Regions from separate parts of the Homo sapiens genome. Here region 1 is linked to region 2. Evidence: promoter capture Hi-C in human tissues and cell types (Jung and others, 2019). All regions are on one chromosome and are shown on one strand. Each heading gives the region's core, a stretch centred on a gene start or on the middle of the fragment in contact. The rest is flanking DNA. Distances are from core to core; before and after follow the strand shown. Region 1 overlaps RHBDF2 (rhomboid 5 homolog 2). Region 2 holds the start of MXRA7 (matrix remodeling associated 7).

Region 1 (2,500 bases), core at 1-2,500, 240 kb before region 2:
CGTTCTACCTGAGGTCTACTTGTGTCTCCCCCCTTGTTCTCTGCCCCCAGACCATGGCCAAAGCCTTTCCCACAATGTCCCATCTGAGAGCCTTATGGATGGGCTCACAGGGCAGAGGTAGGAGGAGAAAGAGGAAGGGGCATGGTGGGCACCCAGCCCTGGGGGCAACTGAGGGCACAGCCACGTCCCCAGCAAGGGCACGCTCCAGTAGTAGTGGGGGAGAAGGCACCAGCAGAGGCAGCGCTGAGGACCTGGGAAGAAAAGGACCCTGCCCCAGGAGATGGTCTCAGCAAGGAGCGGGATATTAGGAACTGAGACCCAAGACTCAGAGAGGCAGGTGCCTTGGGTGTGCCTGAGCTTGGGTCAGGATCTCACAGGCCTCACGCCCCAGAAAAACCCCGCCTTAACCAACCATCTCACGCGGAGTCAGCCTCGCCTGGCAGGGGGGCACCCAGGTCCAGAGCCCGGGCCCTGTCTTGGGTCTCTGGCTCTCTGGCACACAGAGAGCGCTCTGCAGAGGGCAGCCCTCGCAGGCAGACCCTGTTCCAGCAGGGCTGAGGGGCAGCCGTGTGGCCCAGCGGTCAGTGCAGCACCTGGTCCAGCTCATACTTCTCGCAGAAGCGGCTGGTGAAGGGGAAGCAGGTGAGGTGCTCGATCCAGGGCCAGTTAATGGGGTAGATGTACAGCCACAGCACGAGGGCGGCGAAGAGGCCGGCAAAGGCCAGCAGTGACACCAGGATGAGTGCCCGCTTGCGGTACTTGTCGCTGGTGCCGAAGGTGATGTAGGGCAGGAAGGCGAAGGCCAGCAGCAGGCCACTGAGGAAGCCGAAGATGTGGGCGATGTTGTCGATCCAGGGCAGGAGGCCACAGATGAACAGGAAGAGCACGATGGCCGAGAGGTTGAGGAAGGCCTTCCAGGGCCTCTCCAGCAGCGGCCAGCTCTGGAAGAGCTCCACGAAGAGGCAGGCGAGGAGGCCGAACTGTGAGCCGGCCGGGCCCACCTGGGGCGGGGCAGGGGAGACGTGGCTTCAGGCATCAGGTGGGTGGCCTGGGCCGGGCCTGCACCCTGGGTCATCCCATCGATCAGCTCCTCCCTGGCAGGCATGGGGACCCCTGAGGCTGAGGGGCAGGGGGTCGGCTGGAGCTGCTGGACCAAAGCTGGGCCTGCTCCGCCCATTCTTTCAGCAAACACTGAGCGCCTACTGTGTACGTGCCTGGTGTGGGTCCGTAGCAATAAGCAAGACAGACAAGCCTGTTCCAGGCCGCACACGGTGGGGAGAGGACGGACACTGAACAAACTAGATCAGTCAGGTGGAACTGATCAGACTGCCGACGGCGCACGGAGGCCATTTCCTACCGCTCGACCTGCAGATACCTAGCATACTGTCAGGCAGTGGGCACGGTTAGGAAGATAAATGAGGCGGTGGAGGGACAGGGTGACTCAAGAGCATCACTGTTCCCTCTCACTGGGATTAAGAGACCAGCCAGTAAGCCCCCAGATTAGCTGTCCCTCCGCTGTGGAGCCCAGTACAGGAGGGGCACCGTGTCCCTCTGGCAGATCCCAGGTGGGTGGAATAGGAGCAGCAGGGCTGGCCCCCTATGTGCGGAAGGGGTCCCATCCTCCACATCCTTACCTCTGCCCGGTATGGGAGAAAGATGGCACTGGCGAGGTTGCCTGTGATGCCACTGAGGATGAAGATGATGGCGATACGGTGCCAGCCGGCCAGCTTCTCCAGGTCCCTCAGGATGGTCATTTGAAAGACCACAGACACGAGGCAGTGCACCACGCTGGGGGAGGGACACACCAGGCAGCGGCCTTCAGCCAGGCACTTCAGGAGCAGTAGGCTTCGGCAGGTTGGGCCGGCCATGCCCTGGCCCAGGAACCTTTCCCCAGGGGTCCGGCTGGGTGGCCATCACAGGGGTCGGGTTCGGGGGCAGTGAGGAGCCTCTTACCCAGCATGTAGGAAGAGAGACAGCCAGAGCCTGTAGAACTGATCTGGGACCTCAGGGTTGAGGAAGGGCAGCAGCCCACACACCTTGTCCAAGCAGTGCACCTGGGAGTGGGCATATGGTGCTCAGCGCCCCAGAAGCAGGCTGAGTCTGAGGCTCCGACATGGGAGGGAGTGCGTGAGCCCCGGCCCCAGCAGGCTGCCATGCCCAGCGTCCTCTCCTCCACTACTCCAGGCCTGCCTCGCCTCACCTGGGAGCAGAGTGTTGCTTCCTCATGGAAATAGCCGTGCATGAACTCACAGTATTCCCGGGTGGTGATCTCACAGCTAAGGGGGTGGTGAGGCAAGAGGGGACATCAGGGCGCCGAATAACCACTGCCCACCTTTGCCCAGAGCCCAGCACCTGGCTACAGGAGGCATCGCTGGCAGGAAGGGGGATGCCGCATCCAGAACCTTCGACTCTGGAGCAAGCTTCCTTCCTCCAGCTCGCACCATGGGTAGCCCCAGAGCAGGGGAGCAAAGGACAGTTATTGGAGGGCATCGGCCCAGCG
Region 2 (6,081 bases), core at 410-2,909:
CAGCACATGTCCAAACCGCGCCCCCTCCACCATCACCGCGTGAGGTCTGGAAGCCCACCCCAAGCAAGAACGGCAGGGCCTGCCCCTGCTCCACCCCATTAAATGTGGCTGGTTAGAATCCTCTCTAATGACACAATTAGTCACCCACTTGTCAAGCAAAGCGCCTGCTCAGAGGGGGTCTGGCGCACTTACTCAGCAAAGAGAAATGCCTCTGAGCACAGCCTGGCTGCCTCCTCCTCCCCCGAAGGGCTTCTCTCCAGGGTAAACCATTGTGTCCAGCACAGGACAGAGTGGGCACGCAGACACGCAGGCACGCTGACAATGCGCATCCCGGCTCTCCTCCCTTCCAAGAAAAGGAGCTCAGGGGTAAGAACAAGGGATTACAATCCGACTCGGAGACCCTGGCGGTGGCCTGGACCGGCCAAGCGTGGTGAACTCCAGGGAACATGGGCACACAGTGTAGGGGCTGGGATGAGTGGATGAGGGAAATCCGACTCCTCTCAGATATCCACAGGCAGGACAAGGTGGCCAAGGCCGAGCTGATGGACAGCATGGCGGGAGGCCTGGGGCAGAGGCAGGGAGGGCCGCTTTGGGGTGCTCACTGGTGCTCCAGGAGGGCTTTATCCTGCATCTTCACTCCATCCAGGCCCAGCTTACCTACAACCCGGGGGAGTGGGGGTAGGAGGGTGTTAGATGTGTAGCTTGAAAACGACAATAAAAAGGACTGCTGGGATCGGGTGCCTTTTCTTTCAGTCCCAGCCCACGGGCTTCACAAAACGCCACAGCACTGACTCTGAAATCTGGACTTCAAATTGGCTGAAAAAGAAAAGCCAGCTTTCCTCCCTCGCCCCCCGAAAGTCCTACTTTTTAAACATCAAGATAACTCTCATGGCAGGCCTGGAAATAAGCCACAGGCACGTGGATTTGGGAACCGGTGGGCGGGAGGGGTCAGAAGTGGGTGAGGAGCAAAATTCCAAGCCCTGGTCCCGAGGCCTGGGAGCCAGCAGCTGCGGAGCACGCCCTGGGCTGGGAGAGGCCGAGGGGAGGGGAGAGCAAAACACCTCCAAACAAACTCCTTCGGGCTCGCCCCTCGCCACACTTTCTGGGGGAGGGCGGCGAGTTTGCGGGGCTGCGGCTTAGCATGGCGGGACCTGCATTTCCTGCGGGCCGCGGGTTCTGCGCTTCCTGGGGGCAGCCTGGGCTGGAGGCCGCGGCCCCGCTCCCTGGCTCGGCGGGGAACGGCAGCGGCAGCCGGAGCCCCGGGGGTGGGGAGGGGGCCGCGAGGGCCCCGGTGCGTACCTGCCTCGCCTCCACCGCCTGCTCCTCCGCCTCCGCTGGCGCCGCCGCGGGATCCCCTGGCCCTTCGGGCTCCCCCGGTCCCGCAGGCTCCCCGAGCTCCCCCAGCCCCGCGGGCTCTCCAGGCTCCTCCGGCCCCGCGGGCGAGGCCGCCGGCTCGGGGGCGCAGGGGCGGGACGGCGCCGGGGCCCCGGTGGCCTCGGCCGGGGGCGCGGGTTCCGGGGGCGCGCGGGCAGGCTCCGGGCTCGCGGCCGCCCCACGCCGCACCAGTAGCCAGGCGAGCAGAAGGGCCAGCGCGGTGGCCAGCGCAGGCAGCGCGGCCAGTAGCTCGGCCGGCGCCTCCATCGCGCCGCGGCCGCCGAGTGCGGGCCAGCTGGGACCCCGAGGGAGCCCGCCGCGCCCCGTCGCCGCGCCCGGTCGCCGCGCCCCGCCTCGGGGCGGAGCCCCCATCGCCGCGCCCCGCCCCCGCCCCCTCCGGCCCCGGGAGGGTGACGCACAGGCTGCGGGCGGGGGTGTTGAGGGGGCAGAGCCCTGACCACCTGGGAGGCACAGGAGGGCCAACCCCTGCCCGGCCTGGGCAGCCTTGACGCTTTGGGGCACAATTTAGCTCAGGTTCAATTTGAAATACTGTATGAGGTGCCCTTAGGTTGTCATCTTTGGCCTTAGTACGGCGGTTCGTCTTAGAGCATTTTGGAAATGTGGGAATGCAGAGAGACAAGCAAACCCGGGAAGCTTCATGGAAACGGCAGCCTGGATTGGCTTGTAAAGCAATCATAATGCCGGATTACGTTCAGCCACTGCCGTTTTTATAGGCATGTCAGGAGTTGCTTTTAATCCTCAGGGTTGCCTTAATGCACTTTCACAGAGGACATCTCCAGATCCCGGCCAGTGAATGCTCCCTTCGGAGCTGAGGCCAGCAGCCTTCAACACAGGCCTCCCTGTTAACAGTAACATGGCTCCCCCGCCCCTAGACCTGAAATTCAGCTGCAGGTCCTTGGTCAACGCTATTCCTCTTACCAGACTTTCTTCTTTGCACAATTCCAGAATGCATGCAGGGTGGGAGGGTACAATGAAGGAAATGAAGGCTATTGTTTTTGTTTCTCCAGATCCTCCCAGGCCTCTGTTGCTGAACAGTGGATTTTGAGATAAACACGTTGTAACCAAAAACATACTTTCCTACCACTCCCCACCCACTCTTTAGTTATTTTAAATAAACACAGGACGGGCATGTCAGGTATCACGCCAAACATAAGGCCTAATGTTAAAAAAAACACGGTTCCAGTTTTTGCTGAGGATGCCTTTAATACTTTTTTGGGAATATTACAGTGCCTGAGCTGATCTGTGATATAAACCAGATATTAGATGGAGTGCTTCTTTTTAAATGAAGATACACAAACGAGACCCCTCAGCAACAGGGAGAGCTGAATTCTGCTGCACTGCACGATATTAAGCGGGCCATGCACTTCCTTTTAGTGGTGGTTGATGAAAAGAGCCTATAAACTATAAAATGTGAAATAGGCTTTATCTACGGGCGACTAGCTTTTAACCACTGTGGAAGTTTCAGCCAGTGTATGGGCCTATTTTTTTTCTTTTGAGATGGAGTCTTATTCTGTTGCCCAGGCTGGAGTGCAGTGGCGCAATCGCGGCTCACTGCAACCTCCACCTCCCGGGTTCAAGCGAAACTCCCACCTCAGCCTCCTGAGTAGCTGGGATTACAGGCGCCCACCACCATGCCCGGCTAATTTTTTTCTGTTTTTAGTAGACAGGGTTTCACCGTGTTGGCCAGACTGGTCTTGAACTCCTGACCTCAGGCAATCTGCCTGCCTCAGCCTCCCAAAGTGTTGGGATTACAGGCGTGAGCCTCCGCGCCCAGCCAATTTTTTTTTTTTTTTTTTAAAGAGACAGGGTCTTTCTTTCTTTTTTTTTTTTTAAAGAGACAGGGTCTCACTATGTTGCCCAGGCTGGAGTGCAGTGGCTATTCACAGGCATGATCATAGCTTTCTGCAGCCTCGACATCCTGGGCTCAAGTGATCCTCCTGCCTTAGCCTCTTGGGCAGCTGGGATTACAGGTGTGCATCAATGCTCCTGGCCCAGGGCCTTAATTTTGTGCTCCATCCCATTGTTTTAAAGTGTAAATACATTTTTTTAAAGTCCTGTTCTGCTGACAAAGTACATTGTTGACTTTCAAATGAGTAAGAAAGAAAATAAGGACAAAACAATGCCAAAAACACAACTCCAAATCATGTTGCTTTATTTAAAATGATGAACAAGTTTCACCCAAGTGAAAGTTTAAAATACCAACCCAATAGCAGATCCACAGGCTTTCATGGCAGACCCCATGGCTAGACGGACGCAGAACTAGGAGACTGCTCAGTGTTCTGACAACTCCAGGAGGCACGAGTGTGCAGAAGACAGTCCCAGTTCTTCTGTAGCATCCAGTCACTTTGGAGACAGCTGGCCAGGGCTAGCTCTCCTCCCAGGAGGTTCACTGGGGCTTAGATGACATTTCTTTTTTTTTAAAGACAGAGTCTCGGTCTGTCACCCAGGCTGGAGTGGCTTGATCTCAGCTCACTGCAACCTCTGCCTCCTGGGTTCAAGTGATTCTCCTGCCTGAGTTGACCAAGTAGCTGGGACTACAGGCATGTGCCACCACACCTGGCTAATTTTTGTATTTTTAGTAGAGACGGGGTTTCACCGTGTTGGCCAGGCTGGTCTTGAACTCCTGACCTCAAGTGATCCACCTGCCATGGCCTCCCAAAGTGCTGGGATTACAGGGGTGAGCTACGGCGCCTGGCCGAAATTTCTGAACAATGAGACAAAGTTGAGAGCCACCGCCTGGGGGTGCAAGCTCACCTAGTTTTGCTGCATAGGATGTCACATCTTGACACAAGCTAGTGGGAGGGGAGTGTGGAAGAAGCCGCCAGACTCCACTTCAAATCTACCAGCAATACCAGTACACACATCAAAAACAACTTACTCGTGGAAATACTACAGACAATCTAAAGAACCTACAGCTGGGGCATCCTTATACGCCTTCCTCCTACACAGCATTTTTTACATTTACTGCAAAAATTTTGTTCCATCCTATACTCGTCTAAAGTCCTAAATCCAAGGCTCAGTCTCTAGTAAGCTTATAAAGCATTTGCACCAGCAACCTTCCCACAGATCCTTAGTTTTGCTACTTTATGAAGAAGCTGTTACTACCTTAAGTATACATTGGTGTTAATTATGCTCTTTCATGTAGATCCGTTACACCTGCATTTAAGAAGGTCTGCACTTTCTTCTACCTGCCCTCACCAGCGGCCCTGTGAACAGCCGCAACAGCCGCACATTCACTGTCCATTAAGCTTGTGGAGCTTGTCAGGGACCTGGGCTTGTCACCGTTATCTCCAGCACCTCAAGAGCAGTGCCTGGCCCTCAAACACCTATTGAACGCTTGAATTATTAAGACACGGACAGCTGCAAGAATACAGCAAAATGTGAATGTCCCTCTTTTCAGTGGCTCTCCCCTCAAGGATGTCACCCTAAACATCCCAGTACCACTAATGGCAGAGGCATGTGTGTGAAGCATGGATTCTTCCAGCTGATGGTGAAGCCTCATCCCCAAAGACCCAGGGTCCTCCTGATGTTCTAGGTCCCCAACTCTTCTCTCTCCCACTCTGGTCCTTCCATCAGAAGTTAATAATCCAAGATCCCTTCTTCCAGGACCCAGCTCTTTGGTTTTAAGATCTGCTGTCATCTTGGAGAATCATCCCTGAAAATAATCTAACATTATCTCCTTCACTTTACTGTTGTTGGCACCATTCAATGGAGTAGCTCACGCCAGATGGGAAGAGGAGTTAACTTCTGAACAAGTGGTCTCTGGGTACCCACTCTTCCTAGTCTACCTTGGCCACCCGCCACCACTCCACTCCTTTTCCACACACGGTTTCCCCACCTTGCCCCTGTTGTGCTTACATAACGGACAGCCTGGCTAGCCCACAGAGACAGTAACGGGGGTTGGGGAATAGGGCTGCTGAATCCCTGGCCTGGCAGGAATAAACAAAGCATGTCCCAGGAGCACAGAATCTGTACTATCCAGACACTGTACTATCCAGAGCTGACTTGGGCCTATCAGATATGTTATTCCCCTCATTTCTGGAATACTGTTATCAAACAGGAATCAACTTTAGCATCTGGAGAAAGAAAACTGGGTGGCTAATCTTTATTTTCTAGATTATTATTTTTTTGAGAGATGGGATCTCACTATGTTGCCCAGACTGGTCTTGAACTCCTGGACTCAAGCAATCCCCCTGCCTCAGCTTCCCAAAGTGCTGGGATTACAGGTGTGAGCCACTGCACCTGGCCTTGGTGGCTAATTTTTAAAATTCAAAATTTCTGCTCCCCTATCCAGACCACTGGCAACGTGTCCTACCACGCCCCCTGGTGGCAAAGAGCCTTTTTGGGCTGTTTTTTATTTTAAACTGAAGTTTAGAGGAGTTGTTGATAGAAAACTGAAAGGAAGGTAAGGAAAAAGGGCAAGCGTGGCAGCACAGGAGCAATGCTGGGAAAAAGAAAAAAGCTTTTTATAGATGGCAAGAAAAGTCTTTTTAAAAAGCAGGAGTAGCAACACCACTCAGATATTACTACCAAGAGATTATACATTCAGAGTTTGACTTTACTCACACCCAAACACATCCTGTGCCCACCACAGAACCAAGGGGGCTGTGGGCGTGGGGGTAAGGAGGGAGAGCAGCCCCCATGGCAGGCAGGCAGCACAGTTCTACCTACCCAGCCACATACTGG

What was found. The method cuts DNA at HindIII sites, captures the fragments that hold promoters and counts their contacts. A contact is called where the count stands out against the background at its distance.
Region 1: a fragment that was not itself captured here is called in contact with the fragment with the promoter of MXRA7 in region 2 in 1 of the 25 tissues and cell types used here (mesendoderm cells).

The regions. Positions count from the first base shown.
Region 1 is chr17:76,471,052-76,473,551 of GRCh38, forward strand. RHBDF2 (rhomboid 5 homolog 2) reads right to left here. Exons shown (of 19, transcript NM_001005498.4): 16 at 2,201-2,276; 17 at 1,954-2,054; 18 at 1,635-1,788; 19 at 1-1,001. The coding sequence ends at 582. Among named protein-coding and RNA genes, the nearest start is that of AANAT, 4.7 kb to the left of the region's middle. RefSeq lists an enhancer at 2,247-2,500. The HindIII fragment of the contact is 4,257 bases long and covers 1-2,500 here.
Region 2 is chr17:76,709,306-76,715,386 of GRCh38, forward strand. MXRA7 (matrix remodeling associated 7) reads right to left here and starts at 1,660. Exons shown (of 4, transcript NM_198530.4): 1 at 1,300-1,660. The coding sequence starts at 1,641. It also overlaps a transcript of JMJD6 not described here. RefSeq lists a silencer at 1,682-1,891. The HindIII fragment of the contact is 3,325 bases long and covers 1-3,227 here.